Linked DNA regions of Homo sapiens: region 2 is linked to region 1. The links are contacts of gene promoters, found by promoter capture Hi-C in blood cells and fetal thymus (Javierre and others, 2016). All regions are on one chromosome and are shown on one strand. The core of a region is centred on a gene start or on the middle of the fragment in contact, and the rest is flanking DNA. Distances in the headings are between cores, read along the strand shown.

Region 1 (3,313 bases), core at 618-3,117:
AAAAAGCCATAAGCTGACATTAATATTAATTTCACCAAAACAGTAACTTTAAGGACTTATTTTTTAACACAGATAATCACCATAATCCTAGGGGGAAAGATATGCAGAATAGACAAGAAAACAGAAGCACTGCCTCAACAGCCCCTGAAAGCAGTAAGAGTGTCAACACAGGGAAAACAGGCAATAGCAGACGACAGAACCTCAGCAGACTAGACCACATGCCACAGCACGATGCTACAGAATCAAATTGAAATATTCTTCCAGCTCATAATGAAGCAAGTCCCACTGGTCCTCAGAGAAGGGTAACTCATCTCTCAGTGAAAGAAACCGCTTAAACAACAGACTGGCCAGCCGAAGCACGACAAGCTCCTTCTTAATGCTTTTATAGAGCATGTTGCCCTCTCCCATTCGCACAGGCTCCACAAGTTGATGCCAGTATGCGCTGAATGACCCACCACCTGGCCCAGGAGGCTCATCTCCCCAGCCCTCAGGGTATTCATGCTTGTAAAAGCATGTGTCTCCAAATGGGCAGTTACCCCTGCCTTCCGCAAAATACCTGCAGGCCTTGTTGCTCATTGCCTCCTTGTATTGCTGAATAAGTTTCTGCTTCTCTTCCTCCTCCTCCACCCAGAACTCACTGGGAATGACCAATTCAGAGGTGACCCTGCACTGTGGGCAAGACTTGACGATCCTGTTCTCAAACTGTCTGGCACTTCTCCACCTGCGGATACACCTAATACAGAAGGAATGGTTGCAATTGGAAAGAATGCCAAAGCGGCGGTCATTGGGGTTGGCCTTCTCATAGACAACCTCCATGCAGATGCCACACACCTTGTCCATACCACGCTGCACAGCAAACGAGAGTTCCATATCTTTCTCGTGTGCTTCAATGCAGGCCCTCATATGTTCTTCCCTCTGGGCAGCATCCATGGGGTGCAAGGTCTGCAGCCCACACATGTCGCATATGTCTCCATGGAGGTACATACAGCTCTCCCCACGAAAGCAAACTCCCCTGGAAGCATAATAGCAAAACCGCAACCCACTGCCCACAGCCATCTGCTTCCTCTCAGTCTCTGAGCTCTGTAGAGGAGCCTCGGGGGCAGATGCAACCCAGCGGCCCCGGTAGGGCTGCCCTGGAACAAACTCAATGGCATCCGCCCAGCTTTCTACACCTGCTCCTCCAGCAGCTCCACGGTCTGCATTGTCTCTCTCGGCTTCAAAGAAACCCCTTTCAGCAGCCGAGCCAATCACAGGCAAGGAAAGGGAGGATGCAGCCGGGGGGGCTTCCGCCACTTCCTGAGTCGGGGGCTCGATGTGCGCAGCCGTGCTAGGGCCTCCACCTGCAGAGGCCCCAGGCGGCGAAACGCCACCCTCAGTGGCCATCTTCCGACCAGAAAGGTCGTGCGAATAGCGACAGTTCTCCCCCTCCTTGCACTGCCCATGTATATAATACCTGCAGATGATCTGCTTTGTCCAAATGCCGCTGCTTCGGCTTGGCAACGGACTGGGCCAGGCTCCTCCTCCTGAGGCTGGGGCAGGCCTCAGGCCTCCTCTGCGGAGGTGGGCAGGGACTGGAGCTACAGGGAAGGGGGCCCAGCCCCTTGCCGCATGTGGCAGGGCTGAATCTGGAGCAGCAGATTCCCCGGAGGGCTCACAGACGGGAAGGTCCGGCCCAGACACACCCTCCCTTGCTGCCTCAGCACCTGCCTGGGCCCCGGCTGCCTCGTGGGCTTCTGAGGGAGCTGCAGGCTCTTCCATGGCTGCTTTGGCACCCCGAAATGGTGCCAGAACCTCTCCGGTATTTTTTCTTTATGGGCTTGAGGCCCGGAATGGCGGCCGCGCTCGGAGGCTTCTCTGGGGGAAGTGTGCATCTCTTTTTCCTTCCCCCCTGCTTTTGGGTCCCTCTGACTGTGTGTTCCTACCTACTTCCGGGCACAGGCAGCATGGCGGACACTTCCTGTGGGGGCAACGTACGTGCTCTGCCTGGTTTTTACCGCAATTTTCCAATCTGACATATTTTTTCGTTCACACAGGCGGGGACCAACCCAGCCCCTTTTGTCTGCCTTCTGCCTCTGCTTCGCTGTGTTCCGGCAGTCCCTAAGTCCCTTCTCACACGATTTCCTCAGGAGAATGAGGTTTTACTTTAATCTCTTCTGGTTTCGGTCATGCACGCTTCGTTGTATTTTCGTATCTGTCTGCCTTAAAAAAAATATAATCCTATAGATTCTGAAACATTTCATCCATGAATTATATAAATTCTTTTTTTATTCACTCCATCTTATGTCTGTGGTTTTTTTCTTTTAATGCCCGATCGCGGCAGGAAGCTTTTTTCAATTCGTTCGGTTGACAAGGCGCCGTTTCTTTTGGTCTTTGTTTTCTGGGATTTCTGAGGGCTTACACTGGATACGCTTTTCACCAGCAAGGCATTAGCAGAGAGCACTTCTGATCCGAGGCTAAGTTAGCACCTTTCAGATGTCTTTCTTTATTGTGATTACTATGCTCATTTTCCCACTGTGTTAGAAGCGCCAGACTTCAACCAGTCCTGATGCTGGCCTAATAAGACACTGTCCCCTGCATGACCCAGGCTTTTATTTTCTCTACTGGTTTAATTCATGGCAGCCCTTTGTTTCCCTTCCTTTCTTTCAACCCCATCTGTGCTGTGTTGTGGCAGGACAGCCTTTCATAACATATCCTGTGCCATATTATCCACAAAGGAATGGTCTTTAATTTCCATGTATGAGCGTTTTGTCATTTTTGCAGATAAATGTAGTAGATTAATCATTTTTTTGTATTCCTACTTTGCTGAGAGTACGTATCATGACTGCATACTGAATTCTGTTATGTAGTTTTATACATTTTTTGAGACAATTTTGTTTTTCCCTTTATTCTCTTAATGTGATTATTTGCAGCTATGAGTTTCAAATATTTAACTAACCAATTTGTTTCTAATAAGAAGCCCTTCTGTCATGATATATCATTTTATATATTATTGGATTTTTTTTCTATAAGTTTCTTTGAGGAAATTTTGTTGCCTAAATCTGTAAAGTGGAAACATATCTGAATATTTATAATCACCCAAGTCAACAAATTAAATTATAATTAAGTAGGTAAAAGCAATGAAAGCAGAATGAAGCAAATAATAAGGGCAAGAAAAGCAATGAAGAAAAACAAATATTAAATAAGGGAAATAAATTAAGTAAAATCCCTTAAACTGCTTATTGAAGCCAGATAATTTCTGGTGAAATTTATCAAGGAAAAATGAAGAAGGCTCTAATACCCAAGATCAGTAATTTCAAATATGTTATCACTACAT
Region 2 (3,563 bases), core at 1,031-3,530, 3.3 Mb before region 1:
CCGGGCCGAAGCTGGTGACGTAGATGTCGGTCCTCACCTGAGTGATGCGCTCTGAAAGACAGACACAGGTCCCTGGGCTGCACCGACCCACCCTGCGCGTCTGGCACACTCTCGTGCTCTCAGTCCAGTAACCAGGGTCACCCTCTGCAACCGGGGGCTTTTGCAGTGCGTTTGGTAAATTTGGAGGACTTGACAATTACCAGATGAAATCGAGCTGCTCCCCGCTATACCATGAAATGAAATTCCCATCATACAGAACACAGCTTGGCTCTCCTCCTCCTTCTGCTCCCTGGGGAGCAGTCCTGGAAAGACCTGGGCTGAGGCCTCGCCGTGGGGCCTTGGGGTTTTGCAAACACCCGAGCTTCCATTTCCTCCTCTGTAAACCTGGAGCAATGATGCCAGCCTGGCAGCTCAGGGCCACGCCGTCGCCACAGAGAGGGGCTTTAAAAAGCATCAGACAATTCAGGATGAGGGGAGCTGACTTTCCAATCAAAGCAGGAGGTCCTGGGTGGTCTCCGGGAAACGATGTTGAGAATGTGCCCAGTGCGCCCTGAGACAGGAAGACCCACTTCTCTTTATGTAGCGTTTCGAACTGTTATTATAGAAAGCCCTATCATGGGAGACTGTGATTTCAAACAAAATTATTGGAAATAGGTAAAGTGATAAAAGTGGCTAATAATATTTGGGGGAAAACCTGTGTACTTCCCTGGGCACTACCACAGCCCTGTAAGTCCCCGTGGTCATGAGTAGGAAGCAATTCAAAGTGCACTGCAGCCCACACCGGGTAACTTCCAGCCGCACTGTGGGCCTGCCTCTCCAGCAGCTCGCGGTGTGATGATCGTCTGCATGGCGTGCATCTGTGCGTGGGCAGGTGTCTGTGTGATGCTGTGTGTTGTATGATGCAGTGTGCCTGTCTCCTCACTGAGATGCCAGCCCCAGCAGGGTGGCCCGGGAGGCTTTCCATGGTATCCTCCTACTCTGTAGGACTGGAAGGCAGAGAGGATGAGAGAATACCACAAGCACTGACAGCAGCTTAGGGCTCCTCTAGATGCTCTGACCCTTCTGAGTGTGTTCAAGGGACTGGACTGCTGGGCACACAGGCCTAGGAACATAATTCAGAGGGCAGAGTAAGAGACTGTTAAGGAGCCTGTGCCCAAAAGGCAGAGAGTGGCAACTCATGCTTTAAGTGGATCTCCCTGTTAAAAATGCAAATACTAGGCGGGGCACTGTGGCTCACACCTGTAATCCCAGCACTTTGGGAGGCCGAGGTGGGTGGATCGCCTGCGGTCTGGAGTTTAAGACCAGCCTGGCCAACATGGTGAAACCCCATCTCTACTAAAAACACAAAAATTAGCTGGGCATGGTGGTGTGCACCTGTAATCCCAGCTACTCCGGAGGCTGAGGCAGGAGAATCACTTAAACCTGGGAGGCAGAGGTTGCAGTGAGCCGAGATCATGCCATTGCACTCCTGCCTGGGCAACAGGAGCGAAACTCCATCTCAAATAAAAAAAAAATGCAAACACTAGACAACTAAATTTTTTCCTCCAAGAATGTATTCACTGGAAAGTGTCTACCTCACCTAACCCAACAAGTTCAGACTCCACATCTAAACTGTAGAGCCAAGGGGATTGCACATGCCTGGAAACTGCACACAATTCTTAGCACAACAATGAAGCTGTGCCAGGTGTGCCCTACAAGAACAATCTACATCAGTTCATTTTTATTGAATTCCACAAAGTCAAAGTAAATACTAGGACTATGGCCATAGTGAAGCACTAAATGCATAACCCATAAAGATATAAAGGATGACTGCATTCCACAGTGGATTTCTGAAAAGGACTCGCATAGATACAAGACTATGAGGTTGATTTTATATTATTTCTTAACATAGGGTAATCTCAGCTTTAGTAACGCCTAAAAGCTGGTTCCTCCTTAAGTTAACCAGACTAGACATTAAGATTATCTGGGAAGAGGGGATTTTGCAAAGATGTTTGGGAAGACCACTTCCCCCAGCTTCTTCCACCTAGAAATAACAAAGGATCTTGCGTCTAGAAAATAACAAAGGATCTTGCGTCTAGACAATAACAAAGGGTGCATGATTCTTGGCAAGAGTGGAACAGCCATCATACCAAAATCCTGGCAGGGAAGCTCTTTTAGGAATTGTTTGAATCAGCGCAAACACAAGCTTGAGACGAGACTTAAGCCCTTCCTGGATCCTTGCTGGGCTCAGCTGAGGAGAGCACACTCACCTCCCAGCCCGGGCCGAAGTCTGTTGTCGTAGCCATCCAAGAGCCCATCCAAGATCCTGGTAAATATCGTGATGTTGTCATTGGTCTCATCTTTCACTGAACTGGTTGGCATCTGTGAAAAGCTTTTAAAAAGAGAAACAAGAGGAAGCGTTAAAACATATTATTTCTTACAAATTCTTCTCAAGATACAGAAACCAGGGAGTCACGTGGAGGCTTGTCTCCTGAGACGAGGATCTGAGAACACAGCTCCCATAGTGCCTAGGGGATTGTTTGGCCTTGATACACCTCAGTTCTCCAACATCCAAGGATACTCTGCTTGGGGCTAGTTATCCAACCACCTAACCTGAGGCTCAAAGTCTATCATTCTGTGATTCTAAGGAATTGGTTTATGTCAATATTTTAGCCATTTTTAACAACCAATTAGCCATTGCGCATGGACTGGCAGAGCCTAATCCACTCACAGGGGATTTCAGAAGTTTGGTTTAAACACACAAAAACCGAGTTCTCATATTGCTAGAGTCACCTGCACTGGGCGCTGGGGCATGGAGGGGACGCTGAGAAACTTTCCGAGGTTGTTGTTCCCAAACCTCACTGCATCCTTAGTTGGTCTGGGAGCATTTGTGCTGTGAATAATATGCCAGGATTGGAGAGTGAGTGACAGACATGATGGAGTCTGTGTCATCTCTGGGGTCCTGCCCCTTCAGTGTGCCAGCTCACAACACATTCTGTGGGACCCAGCGTCACACAATAAGCCCTCAAGAAAAGTGGGCTGACCCTCAGGGAAGACACAAGAACATTTTTTGTTTGTTCAATCAAGTTATCCAGATTCCAAAAGCTTATGTAATATGAGCAGAACAAAACTAGAAACTGCCCTAGCAGATCTAGACAAACTGAGGATGGTATCTGGGGGGACAGAGAGACCACAAGCCCAGAAGACAGCCCCACAGCTGAAGAGCATGGATCCCACCTCAGGTTTCTACAGCTGCTTTCAGATGTGCAAATAGCAACTGGTTTTGAATTACTGAGCACTTGACTGCAAATTTGGCTTCAAGGGGACTTACCAAACTGAAAGCCAGCTGTGGTTCCCAAGAAGCGAGTGCCCTGGGCACTTGGGAGAAGAACATGTGATTCCTGGTACTTCCCTGAAGTGCCCAGCTGTGGGGCCCTAGCTGTGCTTAAAGTGCTTTCTCTCCCATGAAAAGGCTGAAATCAGAGCTGAGAGCCACCAGCCATGGAGAGATGCTGAGGTCAGAATCGATGCAGGCCTGCTCCACCCTGTTCTTAAAAGTCAGTCATTTTTATTGATTGCATCTA

Evidence for each region. The method cuts DNA at HindIII sites, captures the fragments that hold promoters and counts their contacts. A CHiCAGO score of 5 or more calls a contact.
Region 2: a fragment that was not itself captured here is called in contact with the fragment with the promoter of MKRN3 in region 1 in 1 of 17 cell types (endothelial precursors); the score reaches 7.9 in endothelial precursors.

Annotation. Positions count from the first base shown.
Region 1 is chr15:23,564,228-23,567,540 of GRCh38, reverse strand. MKRN3 (makorin ring finger protein 3) reads right to left here and starts at 1,867. Exons shown (of 1, transcript NM_005664.4): 1 at 1-1,867. The coding sequence starts at 1,758. The coding sequence ends at 235. The HindIII fragment of the contact is 4,614 bases long and covers 1-2,326 here.
Region 2 is chr15:26,879,654-26,883,216 of GRCh38, reverse strand. GABRA5 (gamma-aminobutyric acid type A receptor subunit alpha5) reads right to left here. Exons shown (of 11, transcript NM_000810.4): 4 at 2,250-2,371; 5 at 1-51. Among named protein-coding and RNA genes, the nearest start is that of GABRA5, 14 kb to the right of the region's middle. The HindIII fragment of the contact is 186 bases long and covers 2,188-2,373 here.